Linked DNA regions of Homo sapiens: region 2 is linked to region 1. Evidence: promoter capture Hi-C in 16 types of primary human blood cells and fetal thymus (Javierre and others, 2016). All regions are on one chromosome and are shown on one strand. Each heading gives the region's core, a stretch centred on a gene start or on the middle of the fragment in contact. The rest is flanking DNA. Distances are from core to core; before and after follow the strand shown. Region 1 holds the start of ACAP2 (ArfGAP with coiled-coil, ankyrin repeat and PH domains 2). Region 2 overlaps TMEM44 (transmembrane protein 44).

The links. Contacts are between HindIII fragments. The CHiCAGO score rates a contact against its expected background, and 5 or more counts as called.
Region 2: a contact is called between a fragment that was not itself captured here and the fragment with the promoter of ACAP2 in region 1, in 1 of 17 cell types (neutrophils). The highest score is 5.3, in neutrophils.

Annotation. Positions count from the first base shown.
Region 1 is chr3:195,440,447-195,447,702 of GRCh38, forward strand. It overlaps ACAP2 (ArfGAP with coiled-coil, ankyrin repeat and PH domains 2), which reads right to left and starts at 2,574. Exons shown (of 23, transcript NM_012287.6): 1 at 2,349-2,574. The coding sequence starts at 2,401. RefSeq lists enhancers at 1,489-1,578, 2,118-2,617 and silencers at 2,029-2,078, 2,099-2,318, 2,439-2,938. The HindIII fragment of the contact is 4,201 bases long and covers 1,242-5,442 here.
Region 2 is chr3:194,590,301-194,594,338 of GRCh38, forward strand. The region is part of intron 9 of TMEM44 (transmembrane protein 44); the gene reads right to left. It overlaps TMEM44-AS1 (TMEM44 antisense RNA 1), which reads left to right. Exons shown (of 3, transcript NR_047575.1): 3 at 1-532. Among named protein-coding and RNA genes, the nearest start is that of TMEM44-AS1, 8.1 kb to the left of the region's middle. The HindIII fragment of the contact is 6,556 bases long and covers 1-4,038 here.

The DNA of each region.
Region 1 (7,256 bases), core at 1,324-3,823:
TACAGCACCAAGACAGTTATGTGCACACACTAGACTTAAATGCCACAAGATTCATTTATGAATAAAGACACGTATTAATTTAAAGACAGCCCAATAGATCAGGACACAAGTGCAGCTGCCTTACTACCAAAAAACAAGCCCAGGCCTCACAAGCTTTTTATTTTGATACAAGTTTCACTATCACTCAACATACACAATACTCTCAAAAGTAAAGCTCTTCTTATACATACAACATGTGAATGAAGACTTCTCAAATATTCTTTTCAAATGCTATACAGATCCTCATAGTAATAGGATTATGGAAAAACTATAAAAAATTAAGAATATGAATAATGAAACTTCTATTTCTCGGCAGTCTTCCCTCTATTGCAAATCTAATTTGTCCCCAAAATGTATATAAGATGTTGAAGTTATTGAAATTTTGGCATCTCTTCCCAATTTGCAGCTAACAATAATTGGAATATGGGAAACAACTCCTGAAAACCTGTAATATTTTAATTAACATAGAATTTATGTTACAATCAAGTTTAACAAAAGTTCACTATAATATTCCCTACAACTTAATCAGTATGTTGCCCTCTTATTTTATATTCAATGATTTCTTTATTTCAAAAACAAAGACATCACATGGTTTGTGACCAACCCCAGTAGCTAGAAGTATTTCCAAATCACTTCTCTCAACTTAAAAAAAAAAAAAAATTAATGTGAAACAAAGGGAGTTCAAAGCTACATCTTCTAAGGGAAAAATGCTGTGATTATTTCACTTAAAAATAAATAGCTGAGTCATAGTAACAAAATTTCACAAAAAGCTGAACTTTCTAAGGTGCACTTTAAAAATTACTCCACTTGCCATGCTGTCCTGGAAACCAACCTGCACGCCTGTCCTAGGAAATCTATTTGTGTCTCTTGAGTCCTTCAATAATGCAGAACATAAAAGTTTCAAAAATGAATCGCAACAACAGCTATCAAAGGAAGTGGGTTTTTTTAAATAATAGCCCTAGGCTCCAATAAAATTAATACCCAAAAATCATCAAAGGGCAAACGCAAAAAGCGTTCTTAAATTTTCTCTAAGTAGCAGTTCCTTAGTTTTACAATTCTTTTCTTTTTCGCTGAAAGGAGAATAAGAAATCCAATTAACAGTGTTAAGGATGAGAACAGTTAGTTCCCAGGCAGAGGATGCAATTTACAATCCAGGCTTGGCCCAGACATTAGCGGGCACACACACGCCAGTGCTCAGAGGAAGCTTCAAGAAATGTCACTATCTAACGGAAGTGTTAAGGCCTTATATTTGTAAGGACTATGACCAGCCCTGTAAATAAATACACTGTAAAACGCAACCTAGAAAAACTCCATTGTCCAAAACAACTCAAGACTTTCCTACTATCCTCAAAACAGAAAGAACCTGTGTCCTGGACGGCCTCAGGACGACCGCCTCTCACATAGAAAGAAGGGCAACCCATGTGAATCGGAGTGCCCCCATGTCAACTCTGTGACAGATCCACTGGGAGCATCCGACTGTGATCCGGGCCCTCCTGGGCAGAGGCTGCTGGAAGAGGAACACACAGGCAATCTTCACGGCCCTCCTACTTCCGTTCTCAAAACAGAAATGCACTTTTCTGCTAGTCCTCCGCCCTCAGCCCGGTACCTCTCGACAGCTGTGCCCCCTTCAACGAGCTTAAGTGGAAAGAAAAGCAGGTAGTCACCAACTAGGGTCCACGGAATGCGGTTGATCACAGCGCTTCCCCCCGCGATTCCCGCACGCATCCACCGCGGGCGCCCTCCGGAGAGTCGCTCTGGCCGGGGGCACCGCGAAGCAGAAGTCGGCGTCCCAGTTCGCCCCCTACTCTCTCCTCCCCGGGGAAGGGGGGCAGAAAAGCGCAAAGAGGAACTAAATGAACTGCAAGAGGATGCCCTGAAAGCTCCCTCAAAGAGGGGGTGGGGAGGGGGTGGAAACCAAGAAGGGGCGGAAGGAAGGGGGAAGGAAGAGCAGCCAGAGGAGGAAGGGGGCGAGAGCGAGCGCCCGCGAAGGGGACGGGACTTCGGGAGCGCGGCTGCACCCCATTTCCCCCAGCGGGAGAGGGTGCGCCGGCCTTCGGGGCGCTCCGCCCCGGCAGAGGGCAAGGAAAGAAATGAGAGGCGACGTCCCCGTCCCCGCCACTTCGTCGCCCCTCGGGAGGGCTCGGTGGGGACTGCAGTGCCCTCGCAGGGTGGGAAACGGCGGCAACAGCCGCTCGCCCCGTCGGAAGGAGCGGACGGCGGGGCCTCCTCCGGGTGCGCGGGCCCGGCTTTCACGCCCCCAGCGCCGGGAAGGCAGCTCCGCGGTGACGCCGGGCGGCCGTGCCGGTTACCTGAAGCGGGGCGAGTCCTTCAGACACTCCTCGAAATCCACAGTCATCTTCATCCTGCCTCCGCCTCGCAGGCGGCGCTGGCAAAGCCGAGGGGGCCGCGGGAGCGGCCGCGCTGGGACGCAGACGGCTACGGCGGGCGCACGGCCGCGACTAGCGTTGCGCGGAGCTGCGAAGGGCGCCTCGCCCGCTGGTCATAGCAGCCGCGAAGACGGCGACGACTAGTCAGGCCCCAGTCCCGCCCCTCTTCCTCCCGCCCCAAGTAGAGCGCTGGCCGCAGGGAAACGGCCGGGGAGTGACAGCAGCGGCCAGCCAGCCACGAACCTGGCGGCCAAGGGGCGGGGCATCCGGCAGCACCGCCTGCGGGCGCCCGGGCAACGGGTCTGAGCGACGGCAACCCGAGCCAATGAGCAGCGCGACCGTGGGCACCTCCTTGCCACAACCGCCCCCGAGGGCCAACCGGGATGCGCGGGCGTCGCTAGGCGGGACGCACCGGTTGCTGGGAGGCCGGCAGCTGAGGTTCCTTGGGAAGGAAGTCACGTGGCTGCGGCCGCGCTTCCCTCCGAGCCCCCGCCTCTTCTCCTGCTCCCCGAGCCCCGCCCTGCTGAGCTGCCAGCCCAGAGGAGCAGTCTCCTGCAGGTCTGAGGAAGGAAATTTGCTTTTCAAAGCAGATTGGCAGAAATCTGAAGAGGTTAGAGGCAGAAATTATAAAAGGAAGAGATAGGCTAAGCCACCTATTCCTTTCAGTTTAGAGAAACTGAGGCCAGAAGAGGAGCGAGGATAACTTTAGTGATAAAATCCATCTTTCATGTATTTGTTCCATAGCTTCATAATCTGGAAATTGCTCCCATGTACATCTTCTCATATAGCCAGAGACCACTTCCTGAAGGAGCTGCCGTTTGGGTTGGACATAGAAAGATTTAGGCAGGTATGGGAGGTAGGGTGCTTCGTGTGGAGGAACTCCTCTCAAAACTGCCGAAAGCATTCCCCCTCACTGACACTTTGCTCCTGGTGGTTTTCACTGTTCTGCCATGGTGGGGTTCTGAAGACCAGGCTCATCGTACTCACCTTGCAACACCTGCCCCTCTAATCCACACTTTTTCTAGAAGCACTTTAAGATACTTATCATCTGATCCTCACGGCAGGTATTTACCATACTCCTTCATTTTAAGATGCCATTGATTGTAAAAAGTACAAAGATGTCTTATATGTAATGAGTAATTTTTAAGCCAACCTAAAAAACACGGGCGTATCTATAAAAATGAATATACAGGGTGTTCTAACAGCATAGTGGCTCTGAGTGAGAATCTGGAGGCAAACTTCCTGGATTTAGGTCCCAGCTTTCTCACTTTAAAATGAACATAACACACAGATCTGATGAAGTTGTCCGGTTAACACAGTGCCACATATCGATCATTCAGTAAATGTTGGCTATTTTAATTGTACCATTTGCCTCTTCAGTACTATAATCAAAGGGCTTAAGTCTAAGTTCTCTCACTTTCACTGTCTGAAGTTTTTGTTTGTCTCAAAAACAATCAAACAATTTCGTTCCGTTCCCCAGGCTGGTCTCAAACTCATGGCCTCAAGTGATCCTTCTGTCTCAGCCTCCCAAAATGCTGAGATTACAGGTGTGAGCCACACACCCAGCCTTCTAAAGTCTTAATATAACTTTCTGACCGTCTGGCTAAGTATAGCGTGATGACATACTGTTTTTCGTAACCCATCAAGAGATATCTTGATCTCTTTAGCATCTTTAGAAATTAACAGTATAGACAGGGCATGGTGGCTCACACCTGTAATCCCAGCACTTTGGGAGGCCGAGGTGAGCAGATTCCTTGCTCCAGGAGTTCCAGACCAGCCTGGGCAACATGGTGAAATCCTGTCTCTACAACTCTACAAAAATATACAAAAAATTAGCCAGGCACATGCCTATAGTCCCAGTTACTCATGAGGCTGAGGTGGAAGGGTCACTTAAGCCTAGGAAGTCAAGACTGCAGTGAGCCATGATTGTGCCACTGCACTCCAGCCTGGGTAGACAGAGCAAAACACTGTATCAAAAGAAAAAAAAAGGAAAAAGGAAAATTAACAGTATAATTCTGAGGCATTTCAGAGAATATAGAAGCATTATATTCATTTATTCTTTGCTTATAAACTTGATTTCTTTTTTAATTGTGTATTCCTGGAAACCACACAGCTTTTCTTGATAGCTAAAAACAGACTATTGACTGTTAAATGTTCAGGGTCCTCAAGCACATTAGTGGTCAGGCCAACCTTCCCTAACATTGTAACTTCAATGTCAAATTTACCAAGACAGTTGGCAATCTCTACTATATTTGGTTGCGTTCCTGATGTGTGACAGCTAATCTGCATATACAATAACTTATTATTTTAATACTTAATCACAGTGTAGCCTTTTAGAAGATACCTAAAGTGACACTTTGGGGTTCAAATTAATATTCAACTGCATGGCACCACAAAGGCAAATAACTAAGCTAATTACCAAGTGAACATCTTTCTGTGGATGGCTAAATTTGCATATACCCAGTTAGTGATAACACTGTCACAATTTTTCTTCCTTGCCCTGTGATAAAGCAAGCATTTGGGGGTGTCAATTCTAAGATAGGTCCTAAATAAAGAAACATTAAAGTGGGATGGGGTGGGAGCAGTGGGTCTTAGAATAAAAGAAATACAATATTATTATCCTCATCTTTTTTTTTTTTTTTGAGAAGAAGTTTTGCTCTACCACCCAGGCTGGAGTGCAGTGGCACAATCTTGGCTCACTGCAACCTCTGCCTCCCAGGTTCAAGTGATTCTCCTGTCTCAGCCTCCCGAGTAGTTGGGATTACAAGCATGCACCACCACACCTGGCTAATTTTTGTATTTTTATATAATAATGGAAACCAAGGTCCCAACATATGAAAATAAATTACCAGGTGACTCAGGCCAAACACAGGCTGCCTGATGCCAGATCCGAACTACTAACTGTCCTCCCTCCCCTTAAGAATTCTGCCTTTGCAGTTGTAACTCTGTCTGCCCGTGTAGCAATCTCCCTTTCATCTTCTCTTTAAAACACCACTCTTATGCCACCCCCTCAGGAAGCTTTCTTGGCCGAAATACAAACCTCTCTATTCAACACACAGTAAAAGTTCCTTACTAGGCCCAGTCTGCACTCTAAAAGAATATAAAGTACCAAACTTTAAATGTCTTCCAAATTTCTTCTCCCCAAACTTCTCAGTCCCTCTCTACAAACCCTCTGGAACCCTGGACACCCATAGTTCTTCATAGAAAGCTGCTGATTTCCTCTGAGAACATTGTTGACCATACATCCTCTTGAGCAGAGGTTGTTCAATCTCTCCTCCCTGGTACTCCTTGGTCAGGATACATAGTCAGCAAAAGGCTTACACTGTCTTACTTTCCTTGTTGCTGTTATCCAGCAATTTCTAGTAACTCCCTGCCTTAGCCTGGCTAATTGCGTTGCAAATTATCTCAAGAAAAGGAAATTACAATGAGGGTGACTGTGGGCACTACTGGAACTGACAAGGGCAGAAACTCAGGCAACTCTTAGGACTGGTTTTCTCTCTTGTCATCTGCATCCTCTCTCTTTCCTACTTGCCCAACCCCATCAACTTTCCTTTCTGCTTTCCTCTAGGTTCTGTTCCCCTGTGAACCTGGTTTGCATACAATCTATCATTGCTACTGATTCCTCTAGAGGCTCCCAGTGGGTAATATAAAACAATGAAACTTTCCAGGTGTGAGCAGCATGCGGTGGTGGAGGCTATGACGAACAGAAAGCATGTGCCCTGTGTCCTTCTCAGCTCCAGTCAGTTCCTGCCATACCAGACCTCAGATTTAATGAGAGACGCCAAACAGCCAGATTTTCATGTGAAATCTCCCTGTTTTCAAATATTGACAAGCCTTTCAAAATATTACAGAACATTGCACAGGTTATAAAAATAAGTTTCAGGGCCACTCTGCAACCTCTGCTAGATATTTCTTGACAATTCTTTTTTTTTTTTTCTCCTTTTTTCTGAGATGGAGTTTCGCTCTTGTTGCCCAGGCTGGAGTGCAATGGCACAATCTCAGCTCACTGCAACCTCCGCCTCCCGGGTTCAAGAGATTCTCCTGTCTCCGCCTCCTGAGTAGCTGGGATTACAAGCTCATGCCACTATGCCCGGTTAATTTTTGTATTTTTAGTAGAGACAGGGTTTAGCCATGTTGGCCAAGCTGGTCTCAAACTCCTGACCTCAAGAGATCCGCCCACCTCGGCCTCCCAAAGTGCTGGAATTACAGGCATGAGCCACTGCGCCTGGCTGACAATTCTTTATACAGCCTTTCAACTTCGGCTCCTGGTGTTAATTGCTTAAATCTGTTTCCCAACTCACAGATCCCAGGAGACAATTACATTAGCCCAGCTCATCTTTTCATATCAGTCCACACAGGTAGTGGGTCCCTGGCAAGCCAAGAGAGGGATGGAATCACTCAACCTAATCATTTCTGCAGGGATGGGGGCTGCATGATGGCTGACTAGTAGTCAAGGCAATTTCCCTGTAAGAAAATGTTGATAGCTCGGCCCCATAAAACACAGCTAGTAAACACTCACGTTCATCCAGGACTTCGGCTCCTGACTCACAGTCCTTCATCCCAACTTCCACCATCAACTAAGGTGACATCAACATTCACTCATTTTTCTTTCATTCAATAATATTCATTGAGCATTTATTCTGGCCAGACCTTATAATAGGCTCTGAGAGGCTGGGCACGGTGGCTCACGCCTGTAATCCTAGCATTTTGGGAGGCCAAGGCGGGCAGATCACTTGTGGTCAGGAGTTCAAAACCAGTCTGGCCAACATGGTGAAACCCCATCTCTACTAAAACTACAAAAATTAGCCAGGTGTGGTGGCACTGTGCCTG
Region 2 (4,038 bases), core at 10-2,509, 850 kb before region 1:
ATCATGTTAAAAAGACCACCTGATTCCCAGTGACCCTGCAGTGACTGGGTTTGGGCAGCTCGTCCCCTGCACCTGTTTGGGGCTGTGCCAGCCACTTCCAGTGAGAACATCGCATTAACTTGCGGTCGCAGACCTGGCTGGACCCCTTGAACCAAATTCCTTTCTGACCTTATCAGACCCCAAATAAAAGAGCTCACCAGGCCCCTCAGCCTACGTGACCCACCTGCCCAGTGAAAAAAGTAGGGCCCTGTTCTGTTCTCTGAGGATGGTCAGTGTGCTCTTTGATGAAAACGGTTTCTAAGCTGAGGCCTGAGACCTAGATCATTGTTCTCACAGCGTGTGCTTGACCAGCCACACCAGAAGCACCCAGGCTGCTGGCTAAAAACACTGATGCTGGGGCCCACCCTAGCCCCTGGGTAGGGGGTAGAGACCTAAGGTTTGGCATTTTTACAAGCTCCTAGGGTGATTCTTAGATGCCCTGATGATTGAGAACCACTGCTCGAGCTTCTTAAATGGCTGCTGAAGAATGATTCTTGCCAACCGTGACCAGTTCAGCAGCCTGCAGACAGAAACCTGTCACTTTGATCAGGTGAGCTCTTTAAACTAGTACAGGCCGGGCACGGGGACTCACGCCTGTAATCTCAGCACTTTGGGAGACTGAGGCGGGCAGATCACCTAAGGTCAGGAGTTCAAGACCAGCCTGGCCAACATGGTGAAACCCCGTCTCTACCAAAAATACAAAAATTAGCCAAGTATAGTGGTGGGCGCCCGTAATCCCAGCTACTTGGGAGGCTGACACAAGAGAATCGCTTGAACCTGGGAGGCAGAGGTTGCAGTGAGCTGAGACTGTGTGATTGTACTCCAGCCTAGGCAACAAGAGCGAAACTCCATCTCAAGAAATAAATAAATAGGCTGGGTGTGGTGGCTCACGCCTGTAATCCCAACACTCTGGGAGGCTGAGGCGGGTGGATCACCTGAGGTCAGGAGTTCGAGACCAGCCTGGCCAACATGGTGAAACCCCATCTCTATTAAAAATACAAAAAATTAGCCAGGCATGGTGACAGGCGCCTATAATCCCAGCCACTTGGGAGGCTGAAGCAGGAGAATCGTTTGAACCCCGGAGGCGGAGGTTGCAGTGAGCCGAGATCACGCCACTGTACTCCAGCGTGGGCGACAAGAGTGAAATTCTGTCTCAAAAAATAAATAAATACATAAATAAGTAAGTAAAAATAAAGTGGTACAAATCTTAGAAAACATTTAGAATCTATTTTTTCTGACTCTCCAGAATAATGTGTTTTAAAACTTCATTATTTATTTATTTATTTATTTTGAGACAGAGTCTCACTCCATCACCCAGGCTGGAGGCATGATCTGGGCTCACTGCAACCTCTGCCTCCTGGGTTCAAGTGATTCTCCTGCCTTAGTATCCTGAGTAGCTGGGACCACAGGTACACACCACCACACCTGGCTAATTTTTGTATTTTTAGTAGAGATGGGGATCTCGCCACGTTGGCCAGACTGGTCTCCAACTCCTGACCTCAGGTGATCCGCCCCCCTCAGCCTTCCAAAGTGTTGGGATTACAGGTGTGAGCCAACGTGCCCGGCCTAAAAACTTCATTTTATAATAAAATCATTGGGCCAGGCGTGGTGGCTCACGCCTGTAATCCCAGCACTTTGGGAGGCCGAGGCGGGTGGATCATGAGGTCAGGAGATCGAGACCATCCTGGCTAACAAGGTGAAACCCCGTCTCTACTAAAAATACAAAAAATTAGCCGGGCGCGGTGGCGGGCGCCTGTAGTCCCAGCTACTCGGGAGGCTGAGGCAGGAGAATGGCATGAACCCAGGAGGCGGAGCTTGCAGTGAGCCGAGATCGCACCACTGCAGTCCGCAGTCCGGCCTGGGCGACAGAGCGAGACTCCGTCTCAAAAAAAAAAAAAAAAAAATCATTGCTGGAAACCAGGCATGAAGAGAATCTGAGCAAAAGATCCATTTTCATATCAGAAACAATCCTGGGAGATGACAGGCACAGGTAGTTGTCACAAAACATGCCTGTCACTTGGAGGCAAGGGTGGCATGGAGACAGCAGCCAGCTGCCCAGGGTCCCAGAATGACAATGTCTGGAACTGTTTATTGCAACAGCTACTGCAGCCATGCCGGCCACTACTACTGTTGTTCCAAACCATGTTTCTTCACTGGGTTACACGTCTTCTTGGAGTCCCTATTACTTGGGCTTACCTGAATACCCCCAAAGCAGAAAGAACTCTGACCTGAGAGAGCCCTGAAAATCCCATTCATCCTCAGTCTTGCCTCTCATTTTGACTTTTTTTTTTTTGAGATGGAGTTTCACTCTTGTTGCCCAGGCTGGAGTGCAATGGTGCAATCTCGGCTCACTGCAACCTTCATCTCCCAGGTTCAAGCGATTCACTTGCCTCAGCCCCTGAGTAGCTGGGATTACAGGCATGTGACACCATGCCCGGCTAATTTTGTATCTTTAGTAGAGACAGGGTTTCACCATGTTGGCCAGGCTGGTCTTGAACTCCTGACCTCAGGTGATCGCCCACCTCGGCCTCCCAAAGTGCTAGGATTACAGGTGTGAGCCACCGCGCCTGGCCTGACATTCTTTTTTTACTGAAGGAATTTGTCATGGGTCTAGCCATCTAACAAGGTCTAACAAAAACAGGAACTGAAATCAAGCCATAGGAAGTCCCTCCTGGAAGAGAAAGAGCATGATCGTCCATACCTGCTCCGAGTTTAGGGCCTCCCAATACTTCTGCTGCAGAATAAAAAGAGAGACAGAAAAAGTGTTGGACAGATTTTGCCACCATCCCACAGCAGAGCAGAGCTCAGGACCAGCTCCTGTCTGCTCAGTGAGCCAGGAGACAGGCCCTTAGATGGTTGGGGGCAAAGGAACAGGTGACTTCAGCAAGCAGGAAGGCAGCAGCTACTAGCAGTTACAATTTAGTTAAATGATCAATGAGATAGTTATGATAATTATGAAGGGCTGCACGTCCTGGGAAAAATTACAATCTATCAAGATTTAAAAATTACTATTAGTAGAAATTATTATTATTATTAGGAGGAGTAGCAGTAATAATAATAAATCTCCCATTTATTAACCACATGGCTGAGATGATTCAACTCAAACCCATAAAACTGAGATGCCAATAAAATTCCTGCCTTGCAAATATGGGGTATTTGCTACCAGCCAAGATTCATTTGTAGTCAGTGTTTACTGCATGGTTGGTTCCACTCCAAACCTCAAATATGTCTGACTCAAGTTCTTGCAGGGCAGGCATCACGTCTGCCCTTGTTACTCCAGCACCTCCTGCAGCGCCTGGGAAACATATGTTTCTGACATGAGCTAAGAATCTATGAATATCTGTTACATTGATCTGGGAATGTCTATTAAATTAAATAGCAGGCAGTCCGAGCAGTCCACAGGATTTAGGGTTATTATCACATTAAAACAAAAGCATGTTCAACTCCTTAACATTTTTCATTAAAAAAAATCAATTAATTAATTTTTTTGAGAGAGGGGCTTGCTCTGTCGCCCAGGCTGTAGTGCAGTGGCATGGTCATAGCCCACTGCTGCCTCCATCTCCTGGGCTCAACTGATCTTCCTGCCTCAGACTCCTGAGTAGCTGGGACTACAGGTGTGTACCACCATGCCTGGCTGACATTTATTTTATTTTTTTAGTGGAGATGAGGTCTATGGTGCCCAGGCTGGTCTTGAACTCCTGAGCTCAAGCAATCCTCCCACCCTGGCCACCCAAAATGCTGGGATTACAGGCATGAGCCACAGCACCTGGCCTAATTTTCTATCTATCTATCTATCTATCTATCTATCTATCTATCTATCTATCTATATCTATCTATCTGTGTATGATGGAGTTTCACTCTTGTCACAGGCTGGAGTGTAATGGTACGATCTCGGCTCACTGCAATCTCTGCCTCCCAGGTTCAAGCAATTCTCCTGCCTCAGTCTCCTGAGTAGCTGGGATTACAGGCGCCCAGGACCATGCCCAGCTAATTTTGTAT